Regions from separate parts of the Homo sapiens genome. Here all the other regions are linked to region 1. The links are contacts of gene promoters, found by promoter capture Hi-C in blood cells and fetal thymus (Javierre and others, 2016). All regions are on one chromosome and are shown on one strand. The core of a region is centred on a gene start or on the middle of the fragment in contact, and the rest is flanking DNA. Distances in the headings are between cores, read along the strand shown. Region 1 holds the start of SEMA3D (semaphorin 3D). Region 2 has its middle 100 kb from the start of SEMA3E. Region 3 has its middle 180 kb from the start of SEMA3E. Region 4 has its middle 230 kb from the start of SEMA3E. Region 5 has its middle 260 kb from the start of SEMA3A. Region 6 overlaps SEMA3A (semaphorin 3A).

Region 1 (4,269 bases), core at 1,295-3,794:
ATACACATCGCTTTCAGTGAAATTAAGGCTCACTCGTTAAATCTTGAATAGTCACCCTTGAAGACAAACTAAACTGCACAATACACCTTGTATTTTAGCAAAACTTTTTGTAAAATATACTTTTTTTCCCACTGGGTTTTATTTTAAGAATTTAGATAGGGTATTAGCCCTATAGGACAGAATACCAAATTGCTTTTGATGAAAGTAGATCTCAAACTCTTAGAAAGGGTTGTTAAAACTATCTTGGTGGGACCCTATACAGTTATTAGAAATTCAGAAATAAATCCAGTGACTGAATATTAACATTATTTCTACTGTTTTTATTAACTCGTTTAACACACAAATATTTGTTAAGCACCTAACACATTCAAGACATTCAGGGAAGCAGCCTGAAGATTACGGAGCCATGGACACAGCTGAGGCCATTCATCACATTGGGCAACATATTAACAGTTGATTCCATCTGCTTTGTGCTCAGAGTCATTAAAAGGAAGGAAAGCACAGAATTCACGTTCCAGATGTTGTTTTCTCATGATATGTTCAGGATACTCTGGTAAATTCTGTCTAAATTTGAAGTCTGAGCATCTCAAACTAAATCAGTACAATACAATGTCACAGGCATTGTATTAGAGGCTGAAGAAACAAAGACACAAAACAGCCAACACTTTTGTATGGGATGCAGACACATGCATAACTAATTATAATATAAAGTGAAAAGAGCTTATTATAGTAGTGAAATCAAAGTGCTTTGGGAAAACAGGAGGGAGTGATTAATTCTGTAAGGGCTTTATGGAAAGTATTGAATGGTAGCAAAGGAAGGTGTCATTTGGTTTAAGCATATTAAGCTACAACTTAAAAGAGAAAGGAGGAAAATGGGAAATCCAAAGTTAACCACAATTCTAGTTAAACACAAAATTCTGGCCAATAAACTGACAAAATTATTTAAAAGTTTAAAAATAGAGATTTTCTAAAAATCAAAAACTACTTACTATAAACCCACCATATACGGGAGAAAAAAAGAGATATTTTATTTGCACAATGACATTGCAATTTGCATGGAAGTGCAATGACATATACAAATGAAAATAATATAAACACATAGAAACATACAATAAACAATTGCATGACTATGTACAGAATGAGTGGTATAACATTAAATATAAAGCATTCAGAAAAAAAATAAAAGTTGCTATAGTTTGAAATAGTCTACGAGGATTTAAAATTTTTTTCTCTATCCAAAGAGGGTATTTATGGGGTTGATTGGTTGTGAGTCCAAACCAAGGTTATAGAGATGGGGCAGCATGAGACACAAGAAAGAGCCTTGGTCAGATTTGAGAAACCTGAGCCTTTCCTTAGCCTGACTCTGCCATCAACCATTTATAACTTAAAATGACTCCTTTAGCTTCTGTGGCCCTCAGCCCTCTGCCACAGATAAAAGGTCAAATGAAGAATGTCTTCCACCCCTTTCAGTTATTCCATTACTGCATTTGTCTGTTCACCATCTCCAAATCAAGATATCTCTTGTTACTTGCTAAGGAAGCTTTGGGACCCTACACCTTGTGCTCTTAAATCAAGCTGACAAATGCAGGATCCCGTGGCTGCTTGCTTTCCATGTCTCTACCTCATGTCAGATTTATGTTTGGGACTAAGGGCAAGGTGTGTGACTATAAACCTGGATATCCCATCACAAAGGATTTACCATGCAGCTAAAAATGCCTAACGTACAGGGCTCACCAAATGCACAGGCCTTTTTAATGTCCCTGACGGTGGCCTCATGAACTCTCATTGTCATATATTTTTGCAGAATCTGTAGAAGTGAGATATTTCTGCATTACTTTTGCTTAAAGAGGATCCTCTATTCCAATTGCATAGGATCCAGGTTCATCAAAACTTAGATCTTCTCGTCATTATATACTTCTAAGTTCCTACTGTGTGAATAAGGGGTGCAAAAATCTAAAAAACTCCCGAAGACAAGGATATGAGGCACACCTCTTTGTAGGTCTGGCGTAAGGGAAAGAGGAAGAAAGGATTACATTCTACTCGTTTTTATCTCTCCCTGTTTGGTCTTAATCGGGTGCCAGCCCCTTAACGGAGGGTTGATCCCTGTTCCTCATCCCTATGCCTGCCTTGTCAAGGCCATTAACCGTGGATTGAGGTTTTACATAGTGGAACGCAGGTACTGTTTTGTGGGATTAGCATTTTTAGGACGGTGTTTGTGGTCACTCTCCCTGTTTCTTCCTCATGGGGTCCCTTAACAGGTTTTATGGTATAGAGAAGGAACTAAAGAAGTCCCCAAGTCACCCAGAAGGAAGATCAGACGTTAGAGGTTGCTTTACACATAGGGTGCCCTGTCCTGATAAACATCCGTCAGCGCTTGGCCAGGGCTACCTCTAAATCCACGCTGCTGGCAGCCTCCGCGCAGCAGGGATGAACTTCTGCACGCTTGGGAGTTCTGGCGTGCGCAGTGGAAGGAGGGGGCGAGGGCTGGGGGAGGAGATCGGAAGGGGAAAGGTAATCCCCGGCGTTTTCAGCATCCTCTTTTTAGAAAGACTGAGTCTCTCCCAGGACAGCTGCTGCGGTCACACCACAAACTTAAAAGCCGCCCTCCTGTTTGGAGCGTGCCTTTCCTCGCCACCCTCTCCTCCCCAAAGCTCCAGCTGGTGCCTTGCTCTCCGCCTGTCCTAGCGCGGCTCTCGGGGGAGGCAGCAGCGCCCCCTGCCTCCCGGCCTGGCCCCTGCGGCCGCAGCTTCCCGGCTCTGCCAGGGCTGCCGGCGGCTCCGCTTGCTCAGCCAGGGCTGCGGCTCAGAGGAACGCGCGCCGGTGCCCCGGGTTGCCGCGCCGCTGGACCTCAGCCTGCATCCCGTTCCCCTCTCCCTGAAAAGGCACCAGGAAAAGAGAGAGGGAGAGAAGAGTTCACAGCAGGTAAGTCTGGTTTGGGTCACCTGCTACTCCAGTGGGAGGGTGTGCTGGAGACCGCGGTGCTAAGCGGGGATAGCCGGGATTTGGGGGTGGCTGTGGGTCCGAAGTGGAGGACGAGCATGGTTTGGGAGATAAGGAACCGTCCTGAGACAGAGAAGGCTCCCGGGAGCGGACAGAGAGTGGGCGAAATCGGTGCGCAGTAATCGCGGCGCCAGCTTCAGCGCGGCCCCTGGGGCGCAGTCCCACCCCGCCTCAGCAGCTGCGGAGCCTTCTGACGAGCCTCCGCCTGGCAGCACTGCACAAAGTTTTCCTCCTGAGACGCGTCCAGGAACTTTGCTCTCTCCCTGGCTTCCTGGTTCCCCCACCACCCCTCCTGGTCTGGGCAGCAGAGAGCGTCTATGAATGTGTCCCCGGCTTCCGCAGGCTGCAGGTTCATTTGGAGACGCTTTAGTCGGGAACATCCGGGGAGTACTTGACCAAAGGGCATCTGCGCCCTCGCTCGCTCCTTTCCTTGTTGGTCTGGGAGAAGGGAAAGGGGCAAGGAAGAAGGAAGGGAAGCGTGGTGGTTTTTGTTGTAGCGTTTTGGAAGAGGAATGGGCGACGCCTTTTTCTTCGCCGGGGAATCGCGACGTTCCGTCTGATGGAAGTGTGCATCCTTTTAGATTTAGAGGGAAAGTTGGAGTCAAACAGCAGCCACAAAGCTGGCTGTCTGAAATGTGGTTAAGGCAAAACACTCGGGGGATCTCTTTGTAGTAGTGGGCTTGGCTCGCTTTGGAAAGGCCGGATTTGACTCGTGCTGGGCATTTAACCAGGAGTGCGGTCCCCAGGGTGTTTCCTCCCGGCTTCTGCCCAACGAGCCTGGAGTTAATGCGTTAATGGGCTACCCTGGTAGCGCACGGGCCGTTTTCGGCACTGTTTCTCCTTCTCTGATGACTCGAGTTCAACCTCCTGGGCTGAGTTGCTTTGCCTCCGTCACAGTGCAAGGAGGGAAGTTGACAGGAGGAGGAGACGCCGCGCTGTGGCAGGGAGCTTTGGGATCCAGGGGACTGGAAGAGAGCCGCGCGCCAGCAGCTGGGGCCGCTGGTGTCCGGGATTCCGAGTTATGGGGACAGGAGTTAAATAGCCGAACTTTCAGCGATTTCGCCTCGAGCGAAGCGGTAATAAAAGGCAAGCTTCTGTGCGTGGACTCTTATTTCATCACCAAAACCCCACCACTTTCCGTTTAGCTTAGTGCTATTTGCACAAGCAAAAGAAGAGGGGAGAAGACCTAAACTTTCCGGTTTAGCCTAAAAAGGGTTCTCCTGCATGTGTGCGCTAGCGGGGGATGGCGGGGTGGGGGCGCGCAGAGAC
Region 2 (4,269 bases), core at 545-3,044, 1.4 Mb after region 1:
ATTGGAAAAAGACAATATTCACATAAAAATTCTTGTGGCCAGAGATGTAAAAATGGAGCTACTATGGCAGGTGTATAGAAGGTTAGAAGCCATTATTTCCTCCTCCCCTTCCATGAATGCAAATAGGATACTGATATGGTTTAGCTGTGTCTCCACTGAAATCTCATCTTGAATTGTAACTCCCACAATTCCCATGTGTCATGGGAGGGACCCAGTGGGAGTTAATTGAATCATGGGAGTGGGTCTTTCTCATGCCGTTCTCATGATAGTGAATAAGTCTCACGAGATCTGGTGGTTTTATAAAGAGGAATTCCCTTGCACAAGCTCTCTCTCTTTGTATGTTGCCATCCATGTAAGATGTGACTTGCTCCACCTTGCCTTCCACCATGATTGTGAGGCCTCCCCAGCCATGTGGAACTGTAAGTTCATTAGACTTCTTTCTTTTGTAAATTGCCCGGTCTCAGGTATGTCTTTATTAGCAGTGTGAAAACAGACTAATATAGATAACGCTTAAAAATATTACATATATATAAAATTTAATGAAAGATAGAATATTCTCATATCTGTTCTAAAACCCATCTTGTAAACACTTAGGAATATGTGCTGTAGTCAAGGAATTTCCTCTACAAATTAACATTATTTGTCAAATGCTAATATTCACAATATTAAATGAGAAAATACACTGTACTAAAATCAAAAGCATCTTGCTGCAAATATATTATTCATATTTATGCAACTTATTGGTAAAGTATGTTATTTTAAACAGGGTAAGAATAGCTCCCCAAGAAAAAATCCTGACAATATATAAAGCTGTATAGATTGCTTATTAAGTCGCCTGTTATTTTGCTTACAATAAATGAGAGAAAATAGAAAAAAAATAATTTCAATAAGTTTTATTTTGCCTCTGGCCATGACTCTAGAATTGATTTTTTTAAATGTATTGAGATGAAATTTATAAAATATAAAGTTAGTTAACCATTTCAGGAAGGACAATTTGGTGGTATTTAGGACATTTACAATATTGTACAATCACCACATCTATCTAGATTTAAATTATTTTCGTCACTTCAAAATAAAACTCTGTATCCATTAAGCAGTTTCTCCCTCTTGTCCCCTCCCCTTAGCCTCTGACAATCATGAATCTGTATTCTGTCTCTGAATTTACCTTATCCAGACATGTCTTATAAATGGAATCATAATGTGACCTTTTTTTGTATGACTTCTTTCATTTATCTTAATGTTTGTGAAGTTCTTCCACTGTTGTATCTGCATAAACACTTCATTTCTTTTTATGGCTGAATAATATTTTATTGTATGTATGTACCATAATTTGTTTAAGCATTTATCCATTGATGAATATTTGGGCTTTCCCCACCTTTTGGCTATTGTTCACAGAGCTGCTATGAACATGAGTGTACAAGCTTGTTTTTTTTTTGAGAATCTGTTTTCAAATATTTTAAGTATATACCTATGATTGAAACTGCTGGGTCTCATGCTAAGTCTATTTTTAACATTTTTAGTAAGTCCTTTTCCCTTTTGAAGCTAAAGATTTTTTAGCAGTCTTTCCTCATGACCACCAAAATTAAATATATATATTTAACAAAAGATAACATCTCTTAGAGTGAATACTTCATTTAGAGTAAAAATCATTTAGAGTAAATAATTTTCCTCTATAATTTAAAATTTGGTATATTACAATAAAAATGTTATTTTTAATCCTAATTTAGTCTTCATTTAACTTGGCCTTTCAAATGGCTTATCTCTTCCAATTTGAAAAGTTTCTAATCCATATTTGAAAAGGTCTAGTCCATATTTAGTTTCATTCAATATCCTGAAATTTTTGTGCTGCTATAACAGAATACCAAAGACTGAGTAACTTATAAGGAAAATAAATTTATTTCTCACAGTTCTAGAGGGTGTGAAGTCCAAGGTCAAGGCACCAGAAGGTTCGATCTCTTGCTCCAAGATGGTGCCTTGTTACTACATCCACCAGAGAAGAGGAATGGCTGTATCCTTACATAGCCAAAAAGCAGAAGAGAGGGAATCCACTCCTGCCAGCCCTTTTTATGGTTGTATTAATCTATTCATGAGGTTGAAGCCTCCATGACCTAAACACCTCCCATCAGGCCCTACCTTGCCATACTGTTGCACTGGGGATTAAGCTTCCAACACATCAATTAGGGGGAACATATTTAGACTTTAGTAACCCCTCATTTTAGTTTTAGTTGTTCAGAGATTCCCACTCTGTATGATGTACCTGTACAGACCCTTCTCATTATCTTACTTTATATGAAATAATTTCCTTAAAATAATAGAGAATGTTACCTGTTTTTTTAATTAGACTTATCGTGCAATTAAAATAACACTTGAAATATAGATTTATTATTGGTTAGGGAGAATTAATATTGATGTTAAATTTTATGATAAAACTATAGATCAGTGAAAATCTACTGTTATATTATATTTTTTTAATTTCAAGGATAATACATAATTTTATTGCCCTGGGGCTTATGATTTAAGTACTATATCTATATATGCCTCAGCGGTTATTCTAACTTCACTCCTCTCCAGTAAAAGTGTCTTTTTATTAAGTTCCATGAAGAGACCGATGCTGAAAGGCCTCCATGATATATTGTAAAGGGGTAAAAATGAGTAATCAAAACATGCATGTTACATTTTATGTAAAAAAGTGAGTATTAAAAATACATACTTATGTTCATTTGTGTATGCTTAAAGAAAGGAAGGACAAAAACAAGAATTATGTACAAGAACTAACGATAGAAGTTATGTAGGAGTGAGGTGTATAACGTATAGACAGAAAACAGACAAATTGGAGAATTTTCAATGTACAGCTCATTAACAGTTTACTATTTTTGAACTCTGTAAATATATTACCTATTAAATATTGTTCTTCATTTTTTGTATGCTGTTATACAAAAATTTCACTTTTCAAAGGCAAACTGTTTACCAAATAATGAAATTATAAAAAGATCATCCTTAAAGAAAATATGCGGTTATGTAGGGAAAATTTGTCTATTAAACCTTATATTTTGATATATTTTTGTCCTCCAAAATTTGCTACTAAGAAATTCATTTTATTCACTTCACAATTAATGAACATCATGTAACTTTATTATAAACTGGATTTTCCATGTCATATTAACTTGTAAACTTTTAGATTGTACAGAAGAAACAAAACACAGATCTAACTTACAAACTGCAGTTGCCTGCTAAGCAGGAAAGAGAAGGTCCACTAAGTTCTAAAAACAGAAAGGCAGAGTTTTTTATAAATAAAATGACTCACTGTTCACTGTTGTTTTTGTCCTTCTGAGTAATTTGGAAGACCCACAAAATGAGATCAAAGTTGGATTTTGGAAACTTGCCACACAGTATTGTCAATATATTATAGTAAAACTATGGAATGCAAAACATAAGTGGAGAAACTCCCTCCCTCCCTCCCCTTACCTCCCACACACATACATGCCATAAGCAATGACACTTGTTTATATACACTTACCTTAAATTGAAAGAGAAAATAATGTACTAGTATTCCTGGGACTAAATAAAATATACACAATTAATGCTAAAATGGAGTGCGAATATCTACATCAAGCTACTTTAATATGGAGATCCCACTAAAATAAATTTAGGTTACCTACTTGTGAATACATCAGATTGTAATTTAAAAACAAGCAAAAATTAAATAAAACAAAGAAAAATAAAAATGGAATTTAGACACATCTAGATGGTCAATCATAATATGGAAAATCCAATCAATGGTTTTTTATGTTGTTGTTTTTTTATTTTTTGAGATGAAGTTTTGCTGTTGTTGCCCAGGCTGCAGTGCAATGGCGTGATCTAGGCTCACTGCAACCTCCACCTCCCAGGTTCAAGCGATTCCTCCCCTGCCTCAGCCTCCAGAGTAGCTGGAGTTACAGGCACGTGCCACCACGCCCGGCTAATTTTTGTATTCTTAGTAGAGACAGGGTTTCACCATGTTGGCCAGGCTGGTCTGGAACTCCTGATTTCAGGTGATCCACCTGCCTTGGCCTCTCAAAGTACTGGGATTACAGGCGTGAGCCACCATGCAGGGCCTCAAAAGTTAGTATCTAAATTTAAATAACTCTAGATAGGATTATAAGCATGTTGAAAATTTGAAGATTGGCTTGATTACATATTCCAGTTATAAAATTTAAAACGTTATGTAACTTAAACAGTTCCTCAAATATTGAAGATTTATATGCATATTTCAAGTCTGAAAAACAGAGA
Region 3 (4,269 bases), core at 1,175-3,674, 1.4 Mb after region 1:
GACCTTAGTCAACTTTGGATTTAGTCACTAAGAAATCTGGCTGATATTTTCTTTTTCTTTCTTTCTTCTTTTTTTTTTTTTTTTTTTTTTTTTTTCAGTGAGGCATCCACTCTCCTCTTCTGGAGAGTATGCGTTCTATTCTTGGAAAATGCAAAATTTGATTCAAAATCCCAATTTTCTTAATAAAACACTTGAAATCTCAGTAAGAAAATGCATAACAAGGAAAATTGTATGTTGTAACAGAAATTTGGAGCTAGACTCAGGTGAGTTTAATCTCAACCTACTAGCCACATATTGATAAATAATCACTAAACCTCAGTTTCTTAACATAAAAAATGGGGATAATAAGATCCAAAAAGGCTCTTGTGAAGATAAGATAGGTGCTTAGTAAATGGTCAGTATTCAGTAAAGGATAATCATGATAAGTCCCATCTTATAAAAGAGGAAGAAGCAACATTAAATTAGGTGACTTTTCCAAATGAAGTAGATCCCAAATCATCTGATATCCAATATAACTGAGCAAAAAAAAAAAGGACATATAGAGCAAGAAATAAAAGTATTAATACTTCCTTAAAGTTATTAATATATATTTTCACTTTGTTTTTCTTAAAAAAAAAAAAAAAAAGAAAAGCCAGCAATTATGTTAAGAAAGACTTCAGGGTCTCTCATGAGGTTGCAATCCAGCTGCCTGTCTTCTTGAGCTGCAGTTATCTCAAGGCTTACCTGGGGCTAAAGGATCAGCTTCCAAGCCCATTCTTGTGGTTGTTGGCAGGCCTCAGTTTCTTACCATCTGTTGAACCAAGAGGCTCAGCTCCTCTCCGACTGTTGGCTAAAGGCCTTCCTCAGTTTCTGGCCACATGGACATTTCCATAAGGGCAACTCACAACATAGAAACTGGCTTCCTCCCATGTAAGTGATCTGAGAAAGAACAAGAAATAGGAGAGAGAGAGTGCTCAGGCTGGGAGTGTGGTGGTGCTACCATGGCTCACTGTAGCCTGGAACTCCTGGGCTCAAGTAATCCTCCTGCCTCAGCCTCCCTAGCAGCTGGGACTACAAGCATGTGCCACCATGCCTGGCTACCACAATCTTTTATAACCTGAACATGAAAATGATATACCATCATTTCCACAATGAGCTGCTGGTTACCTGACCAACTCTGGTACAAGTGAAATGGGACTACAAAAGGACATGAATTCCAGCAGGCAGGAATTTCTGGGTTTATCTTGAAAGGTGGATACCTCACAAAAATGTTGAGAGTGCTCAACTAAAAAACATTCTTTTTATATTTGGGGATCAAATGTATATGCTGAGATAGTGTATAAAATGCTTACAAAAGTAACATTTATTCATTTATTGGTATTCGATAAGTAATTCACAATAATAATTTTTCAGTGACATCGTATTAAGTAAGAAATTCAGCTATTAAAAATTTTCCTAGTTTGCTCACTATTTTGCTATTATTAAATGAAAATAATGATAAAAATTGAATTATGGAGTTATTTCCATAATAGTTTTTACACAAGCCAAAATTAGAAATAATTTTATTCTTTTATCTTTTAACATTTTCAACCTATAGTTTTCAACCTACAGTTAACTAAGAGATTGGTATTAAGCCATTTCCATCTTGTGAGAGTATTTTCCATAATGTTACATATCAGATTGACACCCATTTACCTGTACACACAAAAGCTATAATCCATTGCAGAGCTTTCCTCTCACATAACTTGCAAGGCAAGTGATCAAGTAAATGAAGGACTAAGCGAGAGCACCAATATTAATTCATGTGCTATATGGATTGTTAAAGCTTCATTTTTTTTCTATTTTTCTACCAAAACAATCACATAGAATTTCAAATATTTTTTGATATGCTAGCAGATCATCTTGCACACTTCCCTCCACATTACTTTGGTGACTGCTAATGTAACGAACCCAAAATGTATCTCTGTATGTCCTTGACTTGTCAATTGGTAGAATTTTTTTTTTTCATTTCTTGCTGAAGAGCAGCAGTAAAATGTCAGTCATAACTTCTTTGAAATAATTCAATTCTTTCTGCCATTTATCTAACCTTTCAAAAACAAATGAATCTACCAAAAACAAACAAAAGTAACAGCAACAACAACACAAACCTCAGAATTCTATTGTCACTCCTCAAATAAACTCAGCTACAAAGACAATCAGGATCTCCAAGAAAGGCAGAAGAATATGTAGGTAGAAGAGGAAAAGGTGTAGCTAAGGCACAGTGAAATAACCTCGGTTAAGGTAGGCATCAGGGGAGGCCTGGAGTTAGCACTCTAAATATGTGGTTCTCAGTCTAGACTGCCCATGAGAATCACCTGCTGAGCTTTTAAAAATTCCACTGTGCGGAGTTGAACAAGGAGAACCCATGGACACAGGGAGGGGAATATCACACACCCTGGCCTTGCCGGGGATGGGGGGGCTAGGGGAAGGATAGCATTAGGAGAAATACCTAATGTAGGTGACAGGTTGATGGGTGCAGCAAACCACCATGGCACATGTATACCTATGTAACAAACCTGCACATTCTCCACATGTACCCCAGAACTTCAAGTATAATAAAGAAAATTCCACTGTGCATATCAAATTAATGAGAATGTCTGAGTCTGAGACCAGACATCAAGAGTTTATAAACCTTCCTGGGTGATTCCAATGTACAGCCAAATTCAAGAACCAGTGCTCTAAGTCATAGAGAAACAGACTTGACCCTGATAAATGATTTCTCTGTTGGATATAGTTCAGTGGCTGGCATTTCTAAGTAGCAAGATGCTCAGAGGGAGGATAATAGTACAGCAAATAGTCTATTTTTGAAAGGAACATCGGCCAGTGGTAGAAGTAAAATGATGAGGGAAATCCAACTTTGGGGATTAGGACTTTGTATGATATTAGGCCATGCTTACATTGCTATAAATATCTGAGACTGAGAAACTAATAAAGAGAAGAGGTTTAACTGGCTCACAGTTCTGCAGGCTGTACAAGTATGGCACCAACATCTGCTCGGCTTCTGATGAGGGTCTCAGGAAGCTTACAATCATGGTGGAAGACGAAGGAGGAGTAGGCATGTCACATGACAAAAGCAGGAGCAAGAGAGTGGATGAGGGAGGTGCCACACACTTTTAAACCACCAGATCGAAAAAGAACTCACTATCCTGAAGACAGCACCAGGCCACAACGGATCCACCCCCATCACCCAAACACTTCTCACCAGGCCCCATCTCCAGCATTGCTGATTACAATTCAACATGAAATTTGGATAGAAACAAACATCCAAGCTACATCAGATTTTGGGTGAACTTGGTAGGTTTTCAAGTCTGAACACACTAGATAATGGTCTGGACCTCAGTCTCAGAGAAGAAACCAAAATGCAAACCAAGACAGCAAGACAGAAAGTTCATTCATATTGCCTAGGCAGACATAATGCTTGCTGACATAATGGGAAAGCTCCAGTTCATTCAGCAAATGGTAACCTGGGACCACTACGGCAGCCACATACTATTAGTTGTTTAGAGCACCTGGACTGGTTTGAGACCCTACTCACTGCAGAGGTGGGAGTCCTCATTGCCTACTGTTTTGTGAGCATTAATATTGTTTGCAGTTTAACTTCAAGATGGAGTAGAGAGCCTGCAGTTGGATTTTGAGGAAGGCATCTCTTAGCTTAAAAACGCATTGTTAAAACTTTTCAACAGTACAAAAATCAGAAGTGTAGACAAATGTATTTTGTATATAATAAAAACCCAATACTTAATACCTCCAAAACACCAAGGATATAAATGCTAATTGATAACGATAGAACTGAGCTCTCCTTCCACATTTTATATGATAAATGTTATAGAAATTGCACAGAAAAGATCAACCAATATAATTCATGCCTGAATAAGAATACCACATATAGGTTTTGGGGATGTGTGGTTTCTAGAAAGGGAAAACTGTAGAAACAAACTACATAATGAGATATGCCAGCCATACCCTGGAAGTCTCAGCCTGGATGCAAAATGATTAGCTTAAGCACTTATTTTAATTGTTTGTGAACAAGTGAATTGTTCAAAGTGAATTGAATTTGCTTGTTCCAGGAAGAGAACACCACTAAAATTTGGTTGTATAGGAAATAAAGTTTCCATTTTGAGTATCACTGAGTATAAAATAATCCAAAATTGCTTATACTCAGTGATTTGTCTTCCTGTTGCTTTTTAAATTTTTATTTTTTGCTTTTTCTTTTTAGTCAAATAATAGGGAGAAGAAACTCATGTTTACTGA
Region 4 (4,269 bases), core at 840-3,339, 1.3 Mb after region 1:
TCCTTTCCTTTTCTTTAGAATCAGACTGGTGCCATGGTTTTATAGCCATACAAGCCTTTTCTGGCCTCCTATTTCCTTTCATACAAGTTTCTTACATGAAATCTGGATATTTTTAATCCCACTTTGGCATCTACTTCTCTAAGGACTAAGATTATTCTATTCCATGTATGCTTGCTCATTCTCACCTCTGTCCTTCACAGATATTTCCCACAACCAATATCTTACACTCCAAATTCCATATCGGCATCTACTTTCTAGAGGTCCAAAATGGACACATATTTTTCTTTGAGTGAAACTCAACAGGAAAGCTCAAAATTGTAAGTTCATAAAATGGATCTCTTCTCATTGAAGCAAGATTCATAGTCCAAGCGTTCCTTTCTCACTTCCACTCCCATCCCACTGCTACCCCCAGTGGCAACATCTTTGAGAAATGTTTCTGGATGTGGGGAACACAGTTAGAATAATACCAGAAGATATTCCTAACACATTAAATGCTATAATTTTATAGCATCTAAATGTATCCAGTGAAGTCCATATAAGGTCTTTGTAGTATCCCCTCCGCCGGCAATCTGAAATTTTCCCTGGAATTATCCTGCTCCTTGCACACATACACACAAAAAAATCCCTTCAGAGTCATCAAAAGTTATTTCTATTTGACGGAAATTGATTTTGCTTCTTTAAAGCTTCGAATTTCAACCGAGTTTATAGAAATAGACTCCCTTCTTCCTATGCCTCTCAACAAAGTCTTTTAAAGAAAGTCAGAAAAAGAGTAATATTAGTTCTGGGATGGTCTAAGACTCACTGAAATAATTTCATAGTTTTGGAAAATGGACATCTAACTGCCTGCGTACATACAGGAAAGGACCCAACATATGAAATCCATTAATGTTAAGGTCTTTCTTTGAGAAAGCAGAAAACTGCTGTCTCAAGGATACACGCAATATATTTTCCGTGGGTATAAATCCTGAAATAAATTTTTATCATAAAGTATCAATTTTTAATTTAAATTAAATTAAGTATGGTAATCACCTAGACTTTTTATTTTGGAACATGAAATTTAATTGTAATAAGATAATTAGAATATAATTTTTAAATATTAATTTAATGGCACAAGCTCTTTATTTTTTATATTATCTTTCAAGGAAATACTTTGTATCTTTCTTTAAGTTTTTACTGTAAAATTTGTTATAAAATTTCCAACCATGTCATAAGGTTATAACTGAGAAGTAAACAAAGGATAAGTTTCAGAAAGAGTTGGACATTTTATCAGTGGAATAAAAAGATATATGCAATAATGACTTACTTCTTTCACATAGGTGAGGGAATCAGATATTCAGTTACATCAAATTTTTCATATCACTGATATTTACTATTTCAAGTGGCAAAAGTCTACTATACATTTCCCTTTTTATTTAAGTTTATTTAATCTCTCATTTCTTTGTTAGAGATTTACTCTTTCCTGGCCCTACTTGTTTATTTTCTTGAACTGTCTGTTCTTTGGGATATTAGGCAGATTTATTAAGGATTATATTAGGGACAGTAAAAGAAGGACAAGAAAAAATTCCTTTCATGTAAAAATTACTCATTTTGAGTCCCTTTTTGTAACGTGAAGGGAAGTGTGCAGAGACCACTTCACTTGATGATTTCATTTTTAACTCTTCATATGAAAAGCTTTATGAAAAGCTTTATGTTATGCTCATATGAAAAGCTTTATGTTCGGTATCTATAGAGATTCTCACTGGTTAGCCTGAGCCTTACCTTAGGCTAATTTCAATTATAAGGATAATGAAGTAATTGTCATTTGTGCATCTATTGCTGTGCTGTGTACGTGTGTGCTTGTGTTCCAATGTGTGTATGGTTAGAGCAAAGGAAAGTCTGGAGCAGGGAGGAGGAAAGAGAGACAAAAGAAATACAGCATTTCTAAATGATGACAACAAAAATGTGTATAGAAATGATACAGCAAATAGATTCAGGTAGATATATAATAAAGCAGGTCCCTCAAACAACTGCCCTATTCATATGATCATTAAGGATTTTAATAAAATAGATAATCAGCTTGATACAAACAGACTTTCAGATTCTTTGAATAACAAGGATCAAATTTGAAATCATATTGTGTCACTGATCCATGGAGCTTTTGATTAGTTTCCTTTTCAGTTTGATCTGGAATGCAAATTGCTCAGACCCATTCACTATTGTAAGCATTAAAAAGGGCTGTTTGTTCACTTTATTTTGATATGTCATCACTTTTCTGGGCATTAGGAAGATAAACATTGTCTATACTTGTGAGCTATAGTCAGCTCAGCAGGCATTTAAAACATTAAAGGTATGTGTTCCTTTTCAAAGGAAAAGAAGCTGTGCCAGCAGTAACTCTTTATGTCTGGAGTAAATAGGAATTATAACGTCTTTTGTGGTAGTCAATTGGTCACCTAGAGTTTTACATATGACCCTGGTTGGGTTACAAAGCTTTAATCATATTATGTATTCTGTTTTTATATTTCAGGTTTAAATAATTAATATGCTATTAATTTATTAAATTGTTTTTCATTTGGGTAATCTAGGAAAATGTTTATATTTTATCACCAATATAGGTGCTATTGTCCCTCCTCTATAAAGACTTTCCTGACTCTAAGCTATCTTCTTAGATCAAAGTTTAACTTGCTTCTTCTACCATTAGTTTGTCTTATTCTTACCTTGCACTGTAATTCCTTTGCCTATACATATATTATATCCACAAATAGATTTTAAGGTATCTGAAAGTCATCTATCCAAAATCTCCTTATATTCCTCAATTTTTCAAGTATTTCATTCATTGACAATTGATAAAATTTTGCAACACAAATTTTCTCAACATACAACAAGATTTTTTTCTATGTAACTATCTTGCTCTGTATTTTTACTGGGGCTATATTCTGATAATACAAAGATACTAAATACAATAAAAAATTATCTTCATCTTTAATGACCCTACACCCTAATTTACAAGTCAAATACCACAAGGCCTAGAGATGAAGGCCAATTACTTATATATTTATAAGTAGTTTTTCTAAATATATGCATTATATGTGGATTAAAAACGATTTATCATCTAAAAGAAAACCCACCTGAAAACATAAAATAGAATCAAGGCATTCAGTCTCCCAGCTGCACAGTATTCATTATTCTTACCATTAGGTTCTTCAACTATAAAATTAAGGATTTGGAATGTCAAGAAACATGGATGCTGAAAGTTCCTGAGTATTACCTCCTGAAAAAAAATCATCTGTAGTAATCTATTGCCATATTGCTAGTTCATTCAACCCATATTTATTGAGTGCATACCATAATTTAGTCATCCTTAAAAGTGTATGGAATATTACAATGAAAAAAGAATCCTTAAATTGGAGTTTGACATGGTTTGACTGGTTTGGTCAAACCAGTCATGGTTTGACTGGTTTGACTGTGTCCCCACCCAAATCTCATCTTGTAGTTCCCATAATCCCCACGTGTCGTGGGAGGGATCTGGTGGGAGGTAATTGAATCATGGAGGCAGTTATTCTCATGCTGTTGTGATAGTGAGTGAGTTCTCACGAGATTTGATGGTGTTATAAACATCTGCCATTTCCCCTGCTTGCACTCACCCCATCCTGCCGCCCTATGAAGAAGCTGCCTGCTTCTCCTTTCCCTTCTGCCATGATTGTGAGTTTCCTGAGGCCTCCCAAGACCCGCAGATTTGTGAGTCAATTAAACCTGTTTCCTTTATAAATTACCCAGTCTTGGGCAGTTTTTTATAGCAGCGTGAGAACGGACTAATGCAATTACATTCCTGTCAGTGTGGAGAGTGTGTGTGTGTGTGTGTGTGTGCGTGCGTGTGTGTGTGTGGTGCTAGGGCAAGAATCAGAAACTGAATATGTAAGATATCAAGTTGTAAGAAGTCAAAGAAAAAATTAATTAAGGTAAGTAAAGAATGATGGAGAGATGGTAGAGAATCATGGAGATGGGATGCTAATATAAACAGAATTGTTAGGAAAGGATTTAATGATGAAATTTCATTTAAGGAGAAACTTGAATGAGAGCATTTGACTATTCAAGGGACCAAAGTCCCAGGAACAGTCAATAGCAAGGACCCAAGTATAGACCCTGCTTAATAAGATTAAGAAATAGCAGGTGACTTGGTATTGCCGACGCATCTGAGCAAGGGGAAATACGTCAGAAAATACCATTGGAAAGACATCCAGGTGTCTGATCATAGGACCTTGCAGAACGCATAAAGAATTTTAGATTATATTC
Region 5 (4,269 bases), core at 869-3,368, 1.3 Mb after region 1:
CTCCTAAGTGTGGCAAATTTAAGGAACCCAAAATGAGGCTAAAGCTCAATGGACTAAGGATAGAAGGGTAGGAGACAGGTGAGAAAGGAATTCAAGATTCATGTAACATAGGAATTTATACAGATTTTAATTCTAAATCCAATTTGAAAATGTGTGAAAATTTGAAAATAAGCAAGAAGTGGACTCAGTATTTAACATTTAAAAAATTCTCTCTGATTTCTACCTGGAAAATGTATTTTGTGTTGTTGGCTTTTCAGTTTACTAGTGAGTTGGGAGAGTTCCTTGACCACCCTCACAGGACTTGCCACGCGGGTGTGGCTCTCTGTTTGAACAAGCTCTCAAACTCTCTCCTTTGAACAAGCTCAAACCCTTTATGGGAGGGCGAGCACGCAGACGGGCAGGTGCAGGAACCAAGGGGAGCGCTTTTGGGCTCCAGCCCCATGGCAGCATCTAGGAGTGGATGTCTGACACTCCTGAAGCCCAAGTAGGCCTGAGTTACAGTGCGCTCTTTTAGTCTTGCCATCCACGGATGGCTTAAGTGTTAGACAGCTCAGTGAACCCTCTTGGCACCCAGGTCCAATCCAGCATCCAGGAAGAATCAGGTCGCACACAGACTAGAAGGGTGAAAGCTGGGGTTTTAGTAAGTGGTGGAGGTGGCTCTCCACAGAATGGATGGGGAGTTGGGAGGGGAATGGAGTGGGGAGATGATCTTCCCCTGGAGTTTGGCTGTCTAGTGGCCAACCTCCTTTCCAATAGTCCCCAGACAAACTCCTCTCGGCATTCAGACACTCCTTCTCTTCTCTCCTTCGAAATGCCCTGCATTTCTGCTTTTCATCTGTTCGGCCGCTTCTGGAGCCTGGGATGTGGAGTTTATGTGGGCACAGGATAGGGGGCATAGCAGGCCAAAAGGCAACTTTTTGGGCGTGAAAACAGGAATACCTGTTCTCATTTAGGGCCACGGGTTTCCAGGCTTGAGGGTGGGGCCTTTGCTGGGAAACTGCCCTCTTCTACCCAGTATTTCTGTCTCCTGTCTTTATCACTAGCATACAGTCATAAAGAGGAATGGCTTGGAGTAAGCTCAACATGCTATTTCCAGACCTCTTAATCCTGTCTTTGGCAGCATGTTTTAGTATCAATACAATGACAGTAGAAAAATGGAAGAATATTAAGGGCAGACGACGCCAACACCAAATACAAGTAATTGTCATATGAGTAATTGCAGCCTTCCTCTCATTTTGTTTTTCATCCACTCTCAGAAGCAACTGCTGGTTTTCCAAACAGAGTGTGATGAAGGGCTAAGACTCATAGCTTATCAATTGATATTACTGATATTGTAATTTTCTTGAACTAAAAGTAAAGTCCTATTTCATTATCATTTATATTATTTCTTATAGACATAGCCAGTTAGCAATAATATTCTTAGCTAACTACATCTGAGAATTTGAGATTTCCTAAAAAATGGCAAAAAAATGCTAACATGAAATGATTGGTACTGAATATGCTGTCCAAAAGGTTTGTTATCTTTTGTGATATAACTAAATAAACAAACAATAATTTACCTGTACAAAAAAAAAAACAAAACACCAAACTTGCATGCTATCAATCCCTGTGTTAATAAGAGTTCTGAATATTTCCAATGGGTAGTTTCAGAATTTATGAAATGGCTAAAAGGAAAACGAATAACAGGTAAGTACTTTGTTTTATTAATAAGAAGCAGTGATGTAGATATGAAAAATAACTTCTTGTGCTCAAGTGACTTTCCCAGCACATAAAATGGAGAATAACAGCTAGCGAAGGCGTAGTTCTTTGGCCACCTTACTTCAGGAAAGAAAGAAAAAAATATATATGGGGAACTTATGCTCACCTAGGGAACTTGCTCTCATCAGCTAATTTTGAGAACAGGAAAAAGGAAATTGCGTCCCAGGCAGCTTGACATGAGACAATGGGTCAGTCTCCTTATTGCTTAAACATGTAGCATTGTGCTGAGCTGTTCTGCACTTTTCTTCTCACAAAAAGCAGAATCAGCCTGAAAGACCAGTGAAGATATTGCAAAAGGAGGATTTATTGAGCTTCATTACATCTTGAAAGGATTAGTTGCACCTGCACATAAAGAATCTCTATTGGTTCAGATATACAGGCTGAAGGCGCCTTCTTTATTATACTTCTTTCAAAGGAAGATATTTGACCCACACTCTTGACAAGTTTCAAAGCCTCCAGGTTCACTGCCGAGGAGCAAGAGTGCCATCTGCTGGTTAACAACATTGAGCACATACAGAAGGCTTTGAATCTCTTCGGAAAGAAAATTATTGTTCAAAGAATTTTCATTTCTTTGAAGCTGAATTACAGAATAGCTAAAAATATCATTTCCTCATGAAGATATTACTCCACTTCCAGTTGCATAAAATGAAGTAAAAATGCACTCTAAAAAGTAAAGTGGGATGAAAGGGGAAGAAGGAGGACAAAGGGATGTATTTTGACAGAGAACATTAACAGCAAAGTTAATTTTACCGTGAAGAGAGGGTCTTTTTGCTTCATTTCCTAAATAGTTATTTATATTTTATTGTAAATTCCTTTAGGTAAATTAGCTATTAAGTAGTGTGGAAATTCTTGATGGTTAAAACATGTTCTTGGCCGGGCGCGGTGGCTCACGCCTGTAATCCCAGCACTTTGGGAGGCCGAGGCGGGCAGATCACGAGGTCAGGAAATCGAGACCATCCTGGCTAACACGGTGAAACCCTGTCTCTACTAAAAATAAAAAAAAAAATTATCCGGGCGTGTTGGCGGGTGCCTGTAGACCCAGCTACTCGGGAGGCAGAGGCAGGAGAATGGCGTACCTGGGAGGCGGAGCCTGCAGTGAGCCGAAATCGCGCCACTGCACCCAGCCTGGGCAACAGAGCGCGACTCCGTCTAAAAAAAAAAAAAAACCATGTTCTTTACTCAAGGACATTAATATTAACATTCAAATTAGAGCAAGCGTATATCAAAAATATAACAAAATTATAAAATTGTTTTATTAATGTTAAATTATCTTCATAACGTCTTCTACTTAAAACCTAATTTATGCATGGACACTTTACACTTTTTTCTCAATTTCTGACCTTTAATTTTTAATAATGTCATTTAAACATCCATGCAGTAAAAAATTATTACATTGAAACAATTCTATTCCATCTACAATATGTACTGTGTTTCTAAATATACTTGCCAGTTCCACAGCCCCCACCTAACCCTCGTTTCCCATAAATTTTTCACAAAACTAAGTTGTGATAGTTGTAGCCAGGCCCTTCCCAGAGCTCCTTTCCGAGGACTCCCTGCCTCACACTTCAGTTGCAGGCTTCTTCAGAGATTCCTCAGCTACAGCAAACTGACTGCTCCAGTTCCCCTGTCCACCCACATCTGATGACTGCTGGGGTCAGGAATATAAAAGCCAGCCAGTTTGACTTAATTTGGGACTCCTCTGATGTGCCATTGTAGCTCCAGAACTTCTTGGAGGGTTGATTCCTGTCAACTTCAACTTCTTACCTTGAGTTTGGACTTTGTCTTGGCCCAGTCCTACTTTCTTACCCTCCTGTCCACATGGGATGACCCCAATAGTATTCCCTGGTGAACACTTTGCAGGAACTCCATCTCCTGCTTCCAGAGAAACCCAAACAGCAATTCAAGCTGAAAGACAGCCCTGTTGTGACCATGTGATTTTGTTTTGTCCTCTTCTATAGAAAAAGGCTTTATTCTTTAACTTAATCAAAATATCCTTCTCTCTTATCAAATCTTATCAAATCCATATTATACTTTTAGATAACTAAAATGCTACAAAATATATAGTGTTTGGCCATCATGTCTATTTTACATCATTGAAATATTTTACATAATCCTATATGTGTGTATGTCTATGTGTTAAAATACTGATATATTAATCTAAATTTTAAAATCTGAATATTTTATTAGAGCAATGTTTTAAATTTGAGCTGATGTTACTGTAGAATATGAATGTTTATGTATTTTAAGCTAATATGTGCCATAAAGAATATATGCTTTTCATAACTTGAGATGGTTGAAATATTTTATCTTTACAAGTTAATAAAGTGGTACTCAGTACCTTCAGCTTTAAAAAAAAAAAGGCTTTTTCTTTCAAGAACTAGAATTTTAAGACAGAAGAAAAATGCCCTCTAGTGGTAAATATTAAGAAAATACTTTTTAGTGTATTAAATTAATATGTTTAACAAATATTTATTAATTTTCTACTATGCTTTGGTTGCTCTGGTTAAGTCC
Region 6 (4,269 bases), core at 1,155-3,654, 1.2 Mb after region 1:
ATTTTAGCCAGGTGAAAAATTACAAGTTTAAATTTTATTTAAGGTTTCATTGTATTTTTGTACTTGGCAAGCTACATCCACTAACTTCATATTTATTGGTCCTATTTCTAGTAAATGGGTTAAGCACACATGCATGTTCTTAACTACACATTCATGCATTCATTTGTTGGTACATGCACACATACATGCCTGCAAAAACACATTGAATATTTACATAGAATCTAATTGGTGAAAATGTCATACTAGACATTGGAAAGACATTGTACTAGGCATTACCTCAAAAAGTAAACAAAATCACTGTTATATACTTCAGTATATACTGTAGACTTTTATTTGCACTACAATATATGATATTATTAAATAGTTTGTTAGGTTTTTTTTTTTTTTTTGATGGAGTTTCGCTCTTATTGCCCAAGCTGGAGTGCAATAGCACAATCTCTGCAAAATGCAACCTCTGCGTCCCGGGTTCAGGCAATTCTTCTGCCTCAGCCTCCCAAGTAGCTGGGATTACAGGCATGCACTACCATGCCCAGCTAATTTTGTATTTTTCTTTTTCTAGTAGAGATGGAGTTTCATCACGTTGGTCAGGCTGGTTTTGAACTCCTGACCTCAGGTGATCCACCCTCCTCAGCCTCCCAAAGTGCTGGAGTTACAGGTGTGAAACACCACGCCTGCCTGTTAGCCATCTTAATGCTCAGGTTCAAAATATACATGAATGTTAAGAATGAATGAATTTTTTTGTTTTCATTTTATAAATTTTTAAATAGTTTATGTATTTTCAAGAGATATTGACTCATCTTTGAAATGTTTTCCAGCCACTGGAAGTTAAATTAGTCTTTTCTACTGATAGAGCATCTATTGTATTTCTGCAGAAAATCATGTAGAGTCCAATGAGAAAAATCTAAGTAATGCTGTTTATACTTTAAGTTAGGCATTGCTACAGTATTCTGTGTTACCAAGAGTTTATGGGCAACATTTCCTTTCCTCCTATTCTTGACCTTTGACACTGAGTATTATTGAGAGAAATACTAAAATTATAATAAAAACCACTGGAATTTTATTTGTCTTTATGTGGTACAGCAACTAACTGTATTTGCTAAATAACCTAAATAAATATGTAAAATAATTGGCATTCATTTACCCATCTCCTAAATTATGTTTTAGTTTTACATGTATTATTTACAAATTAAACTTACAATAAAGTAGAACATCAAAATTGATAACAAATCAAAATTGAATGAATATGGTTCACAACCTCATCCATCTCTGTCTTCTCTACATAACATCAAATTTCCTAAGATGGTTGCATTATTAACATTTCAATCTTGCGAGACATTTATGGGGTTAAAATGGAGAGTGAATAAATAGAAAGCTGAAATGTGATGCCTTCTGTTTCTGCTATATTGGAAGAGAATCAAATGCTAAATAAGGCCTTTAGCAACATGATATTTCTGGTCAAATGATGGATATCATGACTTTTTTGTTGTTACAAAAGGAAGCAATTTATTTAACTATTTTCTTTCCTCCCATTCTTTCTGGTTTATTAGCTTCATTTCATTTCCATAAATTATCCCACTAAAAGAGGAAATGATTAATTGAAGATTGCTTCCTTAAAAACATTATTTCTTGTCATTAACAGCTGCAACATATTGAAACATTGTGTTATCCAAACACACTGTGGTGCTTTTAAAATAATTTTAATGTTTTGTTGCTCTCAATTATTTTGTTCTAACCATTCAGATGGTTGAACCCGTGGGGAATCATTATGCCAATTTAACAAGGATACCCTTCTTTTCTACTCGCAATTTTCATGACAAAAGTTTGTATGCAAAACAGTTGCTTTCTAAGTGTGAAATTTATTTAGAAATGATTTAAAATGAGATTGCTTTCTTTCTGGAAGCCCACAAAATTATCTATTACATGACATCCTTTAGTGATATAGGTATCCTTGGAGATGTGAGAAGATACTCATATGACTTCTCAGTTCTCTTTCTCTTCTTATTATTCCCTATTTGGAATTTTTGATTTTGGAGTAGACATGATTAGTCATCATTATCTCCCACCCTCTCTCAAGTCAATTTTTATAACATTATTAAACTTAACAAATTTAGAATATTTGAAATGCTTACATCCTCCAGCAGTTCAATAAAGTATTCCATCATAATCAGGGTTATAAACTCTATTTTCTTTTTGATTGATTAAACTTTTATTCATTTCTTTTATATAATTATGATAACTCTATGTCTTGAGGATGTCAAAGTTACATGAGATTTCAGGTTTTAAATTCAATGTGTTACCTGGATTTGCCATTTAGCAAACATCAGCTAAGCGTTTACGATTACCATTCTGCCAGGATTATGAATACACAGTGTGGTGGGCCAGGGGAATAAACCAGATTAAAAATAATTGTAACAAATATAACTACACATACTCTAAGGAGATAACTAAAAAGAGATTTTTTTTGGCAATATAGAAGAGGAAATATTTCTTTGATGGTTGTAGGGGAGTAGGATTCACATTGAGGAGTGTAATTTGTCTTCATTTGGATTCTCAATAAAGGATTTTAAGATTTAATTAGCAGTTGAATCTATCATAATAGCAGTAATAATGATGTCACCTGACATGTTTATGACTATTGCTGTGCCCAGATATTGTGCTAAGACTTTTGTACAAGTATATTTTAAGAACAACAATAGAAAGGGTTATAAAAGACTGGTGCAGTGGCTCATGCCTGTAATCCCAGCACCTTGGGAGGCTGAGGCAGGCGGATCACCTGAGATCAGGAGTTTGAGACAAGCCTGGCCAACATGGTAAAACCCTATCTCTACTAAAAATATAAAAATTAGCCAGCTGTGGTGGCAGGCACCTGTAATCCCAGCTACTCTGGAGGCTGAGGCAGGAGAATTGTTTGAACCTGGGAGGCGGAGGTTGCAGTGAGCCGAGATCGTGCCACTGCACTCCAGCCTGGGTGAGAGAGTGAGACTCTTTCTCCAAAAAAAAAAAAAAAAAAAAAAAGGAAAGAAAAGAAAAGAAACAAAGAAAAAAAAGGGTTATAAAAATATTTCACTGTCTAAAATTTGCTAAATGACCTATCTAACATATAAAAGATGAGTTGCAATTGTTTGGTAAAAATAAAGATAAGATAAAAATAACAACAATGTCACACACATAGAGCAAGAAGACTGAGAGAGAACAAAGACAGACATGCGGCAAGAATATTTACCAAGAAGTTATAAGGGTAAGACATACATTTGTCTAACTGCTTTTTTTCAGTCAATGTAGATGGAAGTATGATCACAAAGTCCATTTCAAAATAAAAGAATCTGTTGTTCACGAGAATCTCAATAATTTCTAGAAAGTAAAACCAGAAAGAAAAATTTTCCAAAAGTAAACATAGAGTAAACACTGTAATGCAATCAATATCATATCAAAAATATTGTGACATCAATACAGTGAATAAGGGAGAATTGACAAAGGTCTCACTCAGCATAGGGTGGGAACACCCTGCCAAAACCAATTTAATAAAATCAACTGTCCGATGTGATTAACATGGTGTGTTCCTTGTAAACTGCTCTCAGATCAACTGGTTTAATCCAGAAAAAGATTTTATATCACTCTTATCCTCAATATATAAGATTTCATATCTTTCAGAAAATATGTACTCACCAATATTTCCTTAGTTGAGTTTTTGTTTATATTGGATAACCATGAATTAAATATTATACTCTCTGAAAAGTACCTAGAGTAGAGCTATACTGTGCTGCCATTTATATGTACGGCTGTTTGCTTTAATAAAGAATCAAATTGATAGCATGCAGTAGGGGGACTATAGCAAATAATAAAGTAGTATATATTTCAAAATAGCTAGAGGATTTTACATGTCACCACAAAGAAATGATAAATGTTTAAAGTGATGGATAAGGTAATTACCCTGATTTGATCATTATACAATGTATACATGTATTGAAATATCACACTGTACCCTATAAATATGTACATATATTATGTGCCAATTATAAACAAAACAAAATTTTTAAAATTGATAGTTTTTTGTTTGTTTGTTTTGAGACTGAGTCTTGCTCTGTCACCCAGGCTAGAGTGCAATGGGTCGATCTTGGCTCACTGCAACCTCCGCTTCCCAGATTCAAGCGCTTCTCCTGCCTCAGCCTCCAGAGTAGCTGGGATTGTAGGTACCCGCCATTATGCCCCACTAATTTTTTGTATTTTTGTAGAAATGGGGTTTCACCATGTTGGCCAGGCCGTTCTTGA

The links. Contacts are between HindIII fragments. The CHiCAGO score rates a contact against its expected background, and 5 or more counts as called.
Region 2: a fragment that was not itself captured here is called in contact with the fragment with the promoter of SEMA3D in region 1 in 1 of 17 cell types (activated CD4 T cells); the score reaches 5.4 in activated CD4 T cells.
Region 3: a contact is called between a fragment that was not itself captured here and the fragment with the promoter of SEMA3D in region 1, in 1 of 17 cell types (naive CD4 T cells). The highest score is 5.1, in naive CD4 T cells.
Region 4: a fragment that was not itself captured here is called in contact with the fragment with the promoter of SEMA3D in region 1 in 1 of 17 cell types (total CD4 T cells); the score reaches 5.1 in total CD4 T cells.
Region 5: a fragment that was not itself captured here is called in contact with the fragment with the promoter of SEMA3D in region 1 in 1 of 17 cell types (endothelial precursors); the score reaches 9.9 in endothelial precursors.
Region 6: a contact is called between a fragment that was not itself captured here and the fragment with the promoter of SEMA3D in region 1, in 1 of 17 cell types (M2 macrophages). The highest score is 5.9, in M2 macrophages.

The regions. Positions count from the first base shown.
Region 1 is chr7:85,185,331-85,189,599 of GRCh38, reverse strand. SEMA3D (semaphorin 3D) reads left to right here and starts at 2,544. Exons shown (of 19, transcript NM_001384900.1): 1 at 2,544-2,922. RefSeq lists a silencer at 2,673-2,732. The HindIII fragment of the contact is 2,551 bases long and covers 1,543-4,093 here.
Region 2 is chr7:83,750,549-83,754,817 of GRCh38, reverse strand. No RefSeq gene overlaps it. Among named protein-coding and RNA genes, the nearest start is that of SEMA3E, 100 kb to the right of the region's middle. The HindIII fragment of the contact is 741 bases long and covers 1,424-2,164 here.
Region 3 is chr7:83,827,723-83,831,991 of GRCh38, reverse strand. No RefSeq gene overlaps it. Among named protein-coding and RNA genes, the nearest start is that of SEMA3E, 180 kb to the right of the region's middle. The HindIII fragment of the contact is 1,235 bases long and covers 1,807-3,041 here.
Region 4 is chr7:83,880,690-83,884,958 of GRCh38, reverse strand. No RefSeq gene overlaps it. Among named protein-coding and RNA genes, the nearest start is that of SEMA3E, 230 kb to the right of the region's middle. The HindIII fragment of the contact is 758 bases long and covers 1,711-2,468 here.
Region 5 is chr7:83,934,233-83,938,501 of GRCh38, reverse strand. No RefSeq gene overlaps it. Among named protein-coding and RNA genes, the nearest start is that of SEMA3A, 260 kb to the left of the region's middle. The HindIII fragment of the contact is 6,870 bases long and covers 1-4,269 here.
Region 6 is chr7:83,967,551-83,971,819 of GRCh38, reverse strand. All of the region lies in intron 15 of SEMA3A (semaphorin 3A), which reads left to right. Among named protein-coding and RNA genes, the nearest start is that of SEMA3A, 230 kb to the left of the region's middle. The HindIII fragment of the contact is 6,553 bases long and covers 1-4,269 here.